Linked DNA regions of Homo sapiens: region 1 is linked to region 2. The links are contacts of gene promoters, found by promoter capture Hi-C in blood cells and fetal thymus (Javierre and others, 2016). All regions are on one chromosome and are shown on one strand. The core of a region is centred on a gene start or on the middle of the fragment in contact, and the rest is flanking DNA. Distances in the headings are between cores, read along the strand shown. Region 1 overlaps ABCC10 (ATP binding cassette subfamily C member 10). Region 2 holds the start of CRIP3 (cysteine rich protein 3).

Region 1 (6,032 bases), core at 2,453-4,952, 140 kb before region 2:
CCACGCCGTCCAGCAGCACTCGCCCTGAACTGGGCTCTAGCAGCCGGAAGAGCACCAACAACAGGGAAGACTTGCCGGAGCCTGTGCGGCCCACGATGCCCAACTTCTCTCCAGGCTGCACGCAGAAGGTCACTCCATCCAGGGCATTCGGCAGCCCTGGCCGGTACGCCAACACCACGTCCTGGAACTCCACGCCCCCCTGGGTCAGCCAGCCGGTGCCCAGCTGGTGGGGTCCATGGGTGGGAGACAGACGGGGAAAGGGAGATAGGGGAGATGAGGAGCGATGGTGAGGAGGGGAGAATAATGAGAAATGGACAGTGTGAGAGGAATGAGAGAATGAGAGATGGGGAAGAAGGGACATGGTGAAGAATTGTGGTCATCATGAAGAGAGGTTATGGGAGCTGAGAAAGATGGGTGGGCAAAAAGAAAGGAATTGTGAGGGAGACTGGGGCCTTCAGGGTTCCAGAGCTTTGGCCTGGGGTGGGGGTACAGGCCCACCTGCAGTGGCTGGCCCTGGGGTTCCTGGGGCAGGTCACAGGTGTACTCTTCCAGCCGCTCGACGCTCACCAGCATGGCCTCTGTCTGTGTGAAGCTGCTCACCAGGCCCGAGAGCAGGCCCGTCAGGGACAGGGCATAAGACAGCGACAAGCCCACCAGCCCTGGGGGAGAGAAGTACCAGCTGCTGGGAGAGCTTGGACACCGGGACGTTTGTGGGAGACTCCCCAGGCTGTGGACTGCTGGCATTTAAAGGAAGCAACAGAGGCTGGGCGCGGTGGCTCACGCCTGTAATTCCAGCACTTTGGGAGGCCAAGGCAGGTGGATCACGAGGTCAGGAGTTTGAGACCAGCCTGGCCAACATGGTGAAACCCTGTCTCTACTAAAAATACAAAAATTAGCTGGGCGTGGTGGCAGGCGCCTGTAATCCCAGCTACTTGGGAGGCTGAGACAGGAGAATTGCTTGAACCCAGGAGGCAGAGGTTGCAGTGAGCCGAGATCGTGCCACTGCACTCCAGCCTGGGCAACAGAGCGAGACTCCATCTCAAAAAAAAAAACAAAACAAAAAAGCAACAGAGAAGCAGGAGGGTGATAGGACCTAGCCAGGAGCACAGGAGGCCAGATGCAGGGCAGGGGGTGGGCCTGGAGAAGCTGGGAGGGACGGCATGTGGGAGACTGAAGCGGGCTGGGGCAGTGTGGTGGGGACGGGGTGGAAGCAGGGAAGGGACTGAGACCAGCAGCTCAGAAGACTCATTCTAGTCCCCAAGCCACCACCACCTGGGCAAGTCCCTCCTGGGGATTGTCTCCTCAACTCCAAACGGGGGTGATGATGATAATCATGATACATCCTCACAGGGAACCCTGGGTGGGAGGTGAAAATGTTGGGGGGATGGTGCAGGGAGAGATCTGGGAGAGCGGTGGACTAACTTGTGGATGAGGTAGGGGTGAGGGGTCCTGGGTGGCACCTGGGTTAGCGAGGCCCTGCTGGTGCTGCACCAGAGCGATGCCTGCGATAGCGCTGACCACTGCCGCCCCCATGAGCTGTAGCCGAATGTCCAGCCACTGCATTGTGGCACTGGTGGCAAACTGGCACCTCTGGTTTAGCTCAAGGAGTCGCAGGTTCTCCTCCTCAAACCTAGGGAAGGCCAGAGGGATGTGAAGCCACTCCACTGTTGCCCTGAGCCACCCAGCCTCAGGGCCTCAACAGGGAAGGCCCTTATTGAGCAGCTCCTTCTTGGGAGCTGGTCTGTATACCCACAGGCCTCCCTCAGGGCTGCAGATGCCAGTGTGCTCTTTCAAAGTGGGGGTCCACTCTGCCTCCCTATCTCCTTCTTCTGTTGCTTTCCTCCTTCCCCATCCCTTGTCCCCAGGAGGGCTGAACCAACCATACCCTGCATATTCCTCTTCTTGGGGGTCTCTCTTTTCCTCTCCCCCCAACACCTCATCCCCCTGGGCTCTGGTTCACACACCTGTAGGTGGCCCCTGTGGCCCGGAGCACAGAGAGGCCAGCCAAGGTATCGGCCAGATGGCTATACAGTGGAGACAGGGTGAGGCTGCCCAGGCGCCGCAGCTCCCGTGAGGAGGCCCTGTAGTGGCGCTGCACGTGATAGTACATGATGCTCAAAGGCGGCAGCAGGAGCAGCAGCCAGGGCAGGCCAGAGCCCAGCACGGCCAGGAGCCCCAGCAGGCCTGCCGCGTTGGCCAGGAGGATGTTGAGGATGAAGGGCAGGCTGTCATCCGCACAGGCCACATCAGAGGAGAAGCGGTTTAGGATCCGGCCCGTGGGTGTGGCATTGAAGAAAGTCACTGGTGCCTGGGAGAAGGACGCTGATTGGGCCAGGGCAGAGTCTGGCAGAAGAGGGGTTGGCAGGCAGCACTGGGGGAGGTGGGGTGGAGGGGAAGGCCCAAGATAGAGAATAGGGAAGGACTAAAATATCCCCAGAATTTGGGGGCAGAGAAGAGAGATTGGCAGAGGTTGAGGAAGAATATCCCAGGGCAGGAAAGACTCTCCCATCCCCAGTGGAGCCCGAGTATTGGGAGGACACTCCACAGGGGCTAGGACTGCACTCCCCTACCCCCGAGGTCCCAGCCCCTCACCATAAGGACTCGATGCAGCAGGCGGCGATGCAGAGTGGCAGCTGCTTGAAGGGTGCCTGCTGCAAAGAGCACTGCCCGGAGAAGGGTGCAGAGGGAATTTACACCAGCAATGGTCGCATACACGGTGAGGTAGAAACGGATGTCTGAGGAGCCATTGGGGGCAGCTTTGGGCAGTGGGAACACTGGGATGCTGGGTGGTGAGGAGGGGGCTGTCGGTAACCAAAACTAGGGCCACTCGGGGGTCCTTTCTCCTCCCCCATGCCATCTCTCCCACCCTCCAGAAGTCACAGCATCTGGAATACCGGCCACAACCCTCACTCCCTGCCTGGCGACCACTCTGAGAGCACCAGGCCTACCCCCAGCCCCAGCCACTCACTAGAGGTTTCCAGGGGAAAAGAGGAGCAGCTGCGGAGAGAAGAGCCCCATAGAAGCTGGGCTGGTGGAGGGTTGCGCCTCCTGGGAGCTATTCTCAGCCTTCAGCTGAGAGATCCAGTGGGAGAGCCACCAGTCAGCAGCGTTCCGCGTGGCTGGGTGGGGACAGGAAGGAAAAAGCTGTAAGAGGCTCCTCTCCCTTGTTCATTCTATTCCAATGCCCCCTTTCTCCGCCCTTGCCTCTGGTTCCTGCCCATCTCCATCCGCCTGGCCTGGCCTCCCCACCCTGCCACTACCCCATATCCTCCCTAGTGTGGGCTTCTCTCATAGGCCCGTCACCCTTCAGCTCTGGGGAGAACAGGATCTCAGACTTGCAGAATGGGAGCTAACCTAGGGGGCAGAACAGAAGCCAGCTATAGAGCACATGCCTCTGGCCCCTGGGCATCTCTCAGAATTAGGAGTATGGCTTTTGTCCCAGCTGTGACCCATGCTTGGTGAGTCTCTGGGCTTTGTAATGATTAGTGCAAGGTAATGGGCACCTAGACAGCACAGCCGTTACGATGTAAGAGACTCCCAGGCACGCTCTCACCTTGCATGAGAAGCAGAGAGAAGAGGATGGCTAAGGCCAAGCCCTGGCCCACGGCCTTCCAGTAAGCTTGGTACACGTGCAAGGCCACGGCGCCCTCCTTCTTGCTTTCTTCCTGCAGCAGGCGACCAGATGTGCTCTGCTCCTCCTCCAGCCCCTCCTTTGTTTTCTCTGGGTTCTGTACTGACTGGGCTGTGGCTGTGAGAATCAGGGGTCATGGAAGAATTAAGCTTGCAGGGTGCCAGCTGAAAACTCAGTATTTCAGAGGAGCGGGCAGCCGTTGTAGAAAAAGCTCTACAGTGTGGCAGGGAAAAGCAAGCCCTTTTCTCCCACTGGGGAGCCATACCTGAGTCAGACTCTTGTCCATTCTCAGCCCAGGCTTTGGGGACAGCTTGTACCAGTGGCAGAATCTCAGAGGGAGGTCCTGGAGGGTAGAAGGGGAGATTGGGAGAGGACTGTTCTGAGTCTATACTATGCCTTTCTCAGTGCGTGTGCAGATCCCACCTCTCATCCTCTCAGGCCTCCCCGTCTAACCCACCCTAGCAGGATACCCCTAGACCTCGAGCAGGACTCTTAGGCCTCCCTCTCTAACCCACCCTGCTCTGGATACCCCTAGACCTCGAGCAGGACTCAAGTCCATCCTTGTAAACCTTGATTCCGACCAGCAGAGAGGGACGAATGTCCATCCCCAAGAGGACCGCCAGAGCTATGCCTGCCACTCTGTCCAGGGTTACTTCTCATTACTGCAGAGCTTTTTCTCATGCTTCGCTCAATTCCTAATATCTGGCTGGAGCTTCATTTCCTCCTATTTCTCTCCCAGTAAACTTGCAGGTGGTCACATCCCTCTGCATAAAAATCTTTCAGAGTTTAAAAATTTTTGTTTTTACAAAAAGACCATTCTAAACCTGACTCCTTTCTCTTCTCTGAAGATATGAGAATGTTCTCAGAGACCCTGGGCCTTTAAGTTCCCAAGAGCACCCAGTCACAAAGCCCATGAGTCCCAAATACACTGGCATTTTACCAACGTACTCCTTTTCCCTCCTGTTCTCCCAGTTCCTCACACCAGTTCTGTGAAGGCGGGAGGCAGCAATGACTGGCTCAGGGCACACATGCAGCAGGGGGCAGAGTCTGTACTTCACAATCCCCTGCCAGACCTGGGCAGACACCTCCCTCACACGGGGCTCCTGCCCCCATTACCAGCCCGGATGAGGCGCCCGGCCTCCATCAGCAGCACCGCGTCAGCCCTCTCCAGGTACTCAGTGCGGTGGGTGCAGAGCAGCCGTGTGGTGTAGCTCAGCATGCCCAGGATGCACCTGTGCAGCAGGTGGTTGGCCACATCTGCATCCACAGCGGCCAGAGGGTCATCGAGGAGATAGAGCTCCTTTTCCTATGGAGACGTGAGGGTACCGTGGGCACCAGGACCCAAAGGCTCTCCGGAGAAGATCTCAAAGTGATCAGAGAAGACAGTTGAGAGAAACTCTGGGGGCTACCCCTACACTAGCAGAGAAGGAGGTGAGACCTGAGGGTGGACATCCCTTCAGGCAAGAAAGAACAGCACCCCAGGGCCAGCACTCAGCTTTCCTAGGTCCCAGGCCCTCAGCCCATATAACACTTTTTTTTTTTTTTGAGACATGGTCTTGCTCTGTTGCCCAGGCTGGAGTGCAGTGGCATGAACACCACTCACTGCAGCCTCAATTTCCCAGGCTCAAGTGATCCTTCCCACCTCAGCCTCCTGAGTAGCTGGGACTACAGGTGCATGCTATCAAGCCCAGCTAAATTTTTTTGGAGACAGGGTTTCATTCTCATCACCCAGGCTGGAGTGCAATGGTGTGATCTTGGCTCACTGCAACCTCTGCCTCTCGGGTTCAAGCGATTCTCCTGCCTCAGCCTCCCGAGTAGCTGGAATTACAGGCATGTGCCACTATGCCCAGCTAATTTTTGTATGTTTTTCAGTAGCGATGGGGTTTCACCATGTTGGCCCAGCTGGTCTCGAACTCCTGACCTCAAGTGATCCACCCTCCTCGGCCTCTCAAAGTGCTAGGATTACACCAACTAACTTTTTAAAATTATTTTTTGTAGAGACAGGGTTTTGCCACATTGCCCAGGCTGATCTTAAACTCCTGGGCCCAAGCAATCCTCCTGCCTTGGCCTCCCAAAGTGCTGGGATTACAGACCTAAGCCACCATGCCCAGCCTACAAATACTTTTTAAAGGCCTTGAACTCTGCCTTAAATCTGCAAAAGGGGATGAGATGGCCAATACCTCAGGAACATGCAAGGGAGGAGGGAAGGAACCAGATGCTAAGGAAAATATTCCTATCCTCCTAACTCAGCCAAGTTCCCAAGGCTCTGGACTCCCCCCACCTCCCTGCCACTGCAACCTCCATCTTTAACTGACCTGGTAGACAGCACGAGCAAGGGCAATCCGGGCACGCTGTCCTCCGCTAAGGGTGACACCCTTCTCCCCCACCTCTGTCTGGTCTC
Region 2 (5,656 bases), core at 2,725-5,224:
AGCTGGGATTACAAGCGTGCACCACCATGCCTGGCTAATTTTTGTATTTTTAGTAGAGACAGGATTTCACCATGTTGGCCAGGCTGGTCTCGAACTCCTGACCTCAAGCGATCCACCCACCTCAGCTTCCCAAAGTGCTGGGATTACAGGCGTGAACCATCGCGTCCGGCTTCATTTCTTTTTTAAATAATTTTTAGGCCAGGCACGGTGGCTCACACATGTAATCTCAGCACTTTGGGAGGCCGAGGCACATGGATCACTTGAGGTCAGGAGGAGTTCGAGACCAGCCTGGCCAACATGGTGAAACCCCGTCTCTACTAAAAATACAAAAATTAGCTGGGCGTGGTGGCGCGCACCTGTAGTCCCAGCTACTCAGGAGGCTGAGACAGGAGAATTACCTGAACCCAGGAGGCAGAGGTTGCAGTGAGTCGAGAACGCACCACTGCACTCCAGCCTGGGCAACAGAGCGAGACTCTGTCTCAAAAAAAAAAAAAAAAAAGAAAAGAAAAAAAAAAAACAAGAAATGAGAGGCAGAAACAAGACAGGAAAATTCAGTGGAAGCTAAAACTAATATTTTTCAAATTTGTTAAAGAAGAAGCCTTTCAAGAAACAGTTATAAAACTAAGCATCTTGAAATATTCCCTGAAACAAGAAACAAATAATGAGAAAGTGTAGAAAAATTACAGTGTGGAAGGCTTCTACCCTTAGAACTTAAGAATGATAAAACAAGTGTTATAAGTAAAAAGGATTGATGGAGACAATTCAGGAACAGGAATATCCAGTGGAAGTTCATAGACCCCAGTCCCTACCCCATTACCCAGATGAAGGAACTGATGTCCCAAGAGGAGACACTTAAGACAGTGCGCCTTTCACCTAGCAGAGCACAGCACTGCAGTCCATTGATGAATTTGGTGCAAGCCCTTCCTCAACGGATTTGATGTAACAAAGGAACTTACTCAAGAAAACTCGGTTTCACTTCCATCCTTCATAGAGGGATTGATTATTGTCTCCTCTGCTGGGACACTGGCACAAGTTTATCAGCTCTTCCCTCCAGCTCTTCATTGGCTACCTTTCCCCCCAGTCCCCCTGCCTTTTTTTTTTTTTTTTTTTGAGACAGTCTCACTCTGTTGCCCAGGCTGGAGTGCAGTGGCGTGATCTCAGCTCACTACAGCCTCAACTTCCCGGGCTCAGGTGATTCTCTCACCTCAGCCTCGCAGGCACATGCCACCAAGCCCAGCTGATTTTTTGTAGAGATGAGGTTCGCCATGTTGCCCAGGCTGGTCTCTAACTCCTAGGCTCAAGTGGTCCACCTGCCTCAGCTTCCCAAAGTGCTGGGACCAGGCGTAAGCCACCACTTCTGGCCGCCTTTTTTCTTTAGTTTTCTTCAGGTTCTATTGTTGTTGTTGTTGTTGTTGTTAAGACATTACGCATATACCATAAAATTCGCCTTTTTAAAGTCTACAGTTCATGCTTTTTAGTATATTTCCAAGGTTGTACAAACATTACTGCTATCTAATTCCAGAACATTTTTATCTTCCCATAGAGAAGCTTCGAACCCATTAGTGGACATTTCCAATTCCATCTCCTTGACTGGCCAACCACTAATCTACTGTCTGTCTCTGTGGATTTACCTATTCTAAATATTTCATATGAATTGATTCATATGATATGTGGCCTCTTGTGTCTTGCTTTTCTTACTTAATGTTTTTATGGTTTACCTGTGTTGTAACATGCATCAGTATTACATTCTTTTTTACAGTTGAGCAATATTCTATCATACAGATATACTACATATTGTTTATCCATTATCAGTTAATGAACTTTTGGGCTGTTTCTACCTTTTGACTATTGTAAATAGTCCTGCTATGAACATTCATGTACAAGTTTTTGTATAGACATATGTTTTCATTTCTCTTATATACCTGGGTATAAACCTGGAAGTGGAATTGCTGAGTCATATGGTAACTCTATGTTTAACTTTTTGAGGAACTGCCAGACTGTTGTCCAATGTGGCCACACCATTTTATGTTGCCACCAACAATGTATGAGGGATCCAATTTTGCCACATTCTTGCCAATATTTGTCTCTTTAATTATAACCATCCTAGTCAGTATAAAATGGTATCTCATTGTGGTCCTAATTTGCATTTCCCTAATGACTATTGATATTCAGCATCTCTTCATGTGCTTATTGGCCATTTGTGTATCTCTAGAAAAACATCTATTCAAATACTTTGCTCACTTTTAATTGGGTTGTCTTTTTGTTATTGCATTATAAGTTATTTATATAATCTGGTTACTAGATCCTTATCAGATTTGCAAATATTTCTTCCATTCTCTGGATTTAAATTTCTTGAAATATCCTTTGAAGCACTATTGAACTACTTTTTTTTTTTTCCACCAGTTGTCAAATGATCCTTTATTGAAATATTTTCCTTTGTGCTTAACTGGCTGGGCATTCCACAGAACCACTGTTGATATCATCTATGATGTCATGAGGGTGGCGGCCATCAACATTACAGCCCACAGACTGGGCAGTCCCCAGGATCTCTTTAATGGTGCCAGAGAGTCTATTGAACTACTTTTAACAAATATTTATCTGGGCATGGGGGCATATACCTGTAATCCCAGCACTTAGGGAGGCCCAGGCAGGTGGATCGCTTGAGCCCAGAAATTCGAGACCAGCCTGGGCAACATGGCAAAACCCCATCTCTACAAAAAATACAAAAATTAGCCAGGTGTGGTGGCATGTGTCTGTAGTCCCAGCTACTCCAGAGGCTAAAGTGAGAGGATCGCTTGAGCCGGGCAGGTGGAGACTGCAGTGAGCTACGATGCACCACTACATTCCAGCCTGGGCAACAGAGACCCTGCCTCAAATAAATACATTCATTAAAAACACAAATATTTAAAAATTTTAAAGCAAACCAGATTAGAAATGTGTAGTTGGTTTTCATTTTTATTTATTTATTTATTTTGAGATGGAGTCTCGCTCTTGTCCCCCAGGCTGGAGTACAGTGGTGCGATCTCGGCTCACTGCAACCTCCACACCTCCCGGTTCATGCGATTCTCCTGCCTCAGCCTCCCGAGTAGCTGAGATTACAGGCATGCGCCACCACGCCCAGCTAATTTTTGTATTTTTAGTAGAGACGCAGTTTCGCCTCGATGGCCAGGCTGGTCTTGGACTCCTGACCTCAGGCGATCCGCCCACCTTGGCCTCCCAAAGTGCTGGGATTACAGGTGTCAGCCACTGTGTCCAGCCACCCTACAGCTTTAGGAGTAAACGATTGTATACAGACCATGTTCTGAGGCTTCCAAACCGAGTCTTGAGTTCATTAAGGGATCCATCATAGTGATAGCTATAGCTGTTACAGCGTTTACATGCCAGGCGCTGTTTGGGCACTCTACATGTATTAACCTATTTAACTCTCATAACAATCCTATGAGGCAGAGACTGTTATCATACTCATTGCACAGATGAGAAAATGGAGGCAGAGAGGGAGGTTCAGTAATTTGCCTGAAGTCAAAGAGTAGGGTACCAGAGACGGGCTCCAGATTTTGTTGCTTTCAACCACTTGCTATACTGCCAAGGTGGAATTTTGCATTTCAAAGAATGCCTACTCCCTCGCTTTGGAGAGAGTAGTGTTTTAATGATGTCTGCACTGTGGACATTTTTCCTGTCCTTACCGCTCCAGAAACTAGTAGAGCTCCCTGTCCAGGTGTCTTCGTTACACATGTGCCTTCCTAGTCTGGAGTCCACGGCTTCAAGATCCTCTCTCCTCCCCGTGGGTCTGACCGAGGCTTTAATGCTCTTTGAAGTAACAGCGAAATAGCCCTTTGTCTCCCAAGTGGAGTGGTTCTAAATTTCTGATAACCAATGAGCGCCGAGGAACCGCGGATTCCGCCCAGGGAGGCTCAAAGCTGAGCCGTGGGTGGAGCCTGCGGAGGGGGCGGAACTGAGCCGCAGCGGCGTACCTACTGTGTGCCGCGTGCGCTGCCTGGAGCGGAGCTATGAGCTGGACCTGTCCGCGTTGCCAGCAACCTGTTTTCTTCGGTGAGGCCCGGGCTGCGGAGGGGGAGAAGATGGGGCGAATGGGAGCCGCTGGATTCCCTGAGGACGCGGAGGGCTAGCCACAGTGTAGTCCCAGACACCCTTTTCACCTGCAGCGGCTGGTAGTCTCCGCACCACCCGCTCCCACTCGGGTCTTCTCCCTTCCTCTGAGAGCTCTGTGGGGAGTGTGAAACCGGAGCGGGATGGAGCTGGCCTCCTGGAGACACTCATCTCCAGGAAGCAGGGCAGGCCAACCTAATTCCCTAGAGGGCCGAAGAGGGAAAGGAGGGGCCCTATGCTTGGACAGGCTCCTCGCAGCTCGGTTCCACTTTGTCCTCCACAGCTGAGAAGGTGAGCTCCCTGGGCAAGAACTGGCACCGCTTCTGCCTGAAATGTGAGCGCTGCCACAGCATCCTGTCCCCTGGCGGGCATGCAGAGGTAAGACCTGGCCAGGGAGCACTGCCCTGTTTACATCACTGCCTCCCACCCCCCAGGCACCAGCCCCCAACTTCAGCACTGGAGGCCTGCCAAAGGGAACCTCAGTAGCCAACCCCAAGGCCGCCCACCTGGTGGACCCCACACCAGCCAGGAATTTGGGAACCTGGGTCGTGACTGTGGATCCCATGGTTTTGGGGATCAGGGTGAGTGGGAAGCAGCGTCACCTTCTGAGCTGCTCTTGCTCTTCCTCCCTTGACCACAGTGGAAATGCTGGCATGCCAGCCCATCCCCCACCCCTCCCAGGCCCACCAGACTCAGCCAGTGGACAGACACACCTGGCAGCCTGTCTGGGGTGAAGGCCTGTGGGGCATGGCTCCCGCTGGCCTTGAGTAACCCACTTCCCTCTGCTTGTGCCCAGCACAATGGGAGGCCATACTGCCACAAGCCATGCTATGGGGCTCTCTTTGGACCCAGGGGTAAGTACCAGCCTTAAGGGGCCATGGGTCAGCAGAACCCTCCTTGTGGCTGGGAGCTGGGGGCTCAAGCCTGACCTCCCCTATTCTCTCTTCAGGGGTGAACATTGGTGGTGTAGGCTCCTACTTGTACAATCCCCCCACTCCCAGCCCTGGCTGCACCACTCCTCTCAGCCCCAGCAGCTTCAGCCCTCCCAGGCCAAGGACTGGCCTCCCCCAAGGCAAGAAAAGTAAGGCTGGGCTCAGCTCCTCCCAGTCCTCCTCCCGACCCTTCCCCAAGCTGGAGCGGAGGTTGGGCCAGGTGGCAGTCTCCTATCCAGCCCTCTGCTTCACATTCTCACAACTTCATTCTTGGCAAAGTCTTCTCTATCTACTCCCCGCTTTTTTTTTCTTTCTTTCTTTCTATTCCCTCATGTGAGCTGCTGAGTTAAGAGGTAAATTGTTGGGAGGCCGAGGCAGGTGGATCATGAGGTCAGGAGTTCGAGACCAGCCTGGCCAGCATGGTGAAATCCCATCTCTACTAAAAATACAAAAATTAGCCAGGTGTGGTGGCTCATGCCTGTAATCCCAGCTACTTGGGAGGCTGAGGCAGGAGAATCATTTGAACCCAGGAGGCGGAGGTTGCAGTGAGTCAAGGTCATGCCATTGCACTCCAGCCTGGGCAACAGAGCGAGACTCCATCTCAAAAAAAAAAAAAA

What was found. The method cuts DNA at HindIII sites, captures the fragments that hold promoters and counts their contacts. A CHiCAGO score of 5 or more calls a contact.
Region 1: a contact is called between a fragment that was not itself captured here and the fragment with the promoter of CRIP3 in region 2, in 1 of 17 cell types (naive B cells). The highest score is 5.3, in naive B cells.

Annotation. Positions count from the first base shown.
Region 1 is chr6:43,441,875-43,447,906 of GRCh38, reverse strand. ABCC10 (ATP binding cassette subfamily C member 10) reads right to left here. Exons shown (of 22, transcript NM_001198934.2): 9 at 5,947-6,032; 10 at 4,748-4,937; 11 at 3,897-3,974; 12 at 3,554-3,748; 13 at 2,969-3,119; 14 at 2,593-2,782; 15 at 1,965-2,308; 16 at 1,461-1,630; 17 at 499-659; 18 at 1-223. Among named protein-coding and RNA genes, the nearest start is that of MIR6780B, 10 kb to the right of the region's middle. The HindIII fragment of the contact is 161 bases long and covers 3,622-3,782 here.
Region 2 is chr6:43,307,144-43,312,799 of GRCh38, reverse strand. CRIP3 (cysteine rich protein 3) reads left to right here and starts at 3,974. Exons shown (of 8, transcript NM_206922.3): 1 at 3,974-4,050; 2 at 4,391-4,485; 3 at 4,904-4,961; 4 at 5,057-5,188. The coding sequence starts at 4,008. It also overlaps the pseudogene RPL12P47. RefSeq lists an enhancer at 4,457-5,314. The HindIII fragment of the contact is 7,114 bases long and covers 1,551-5,656 here.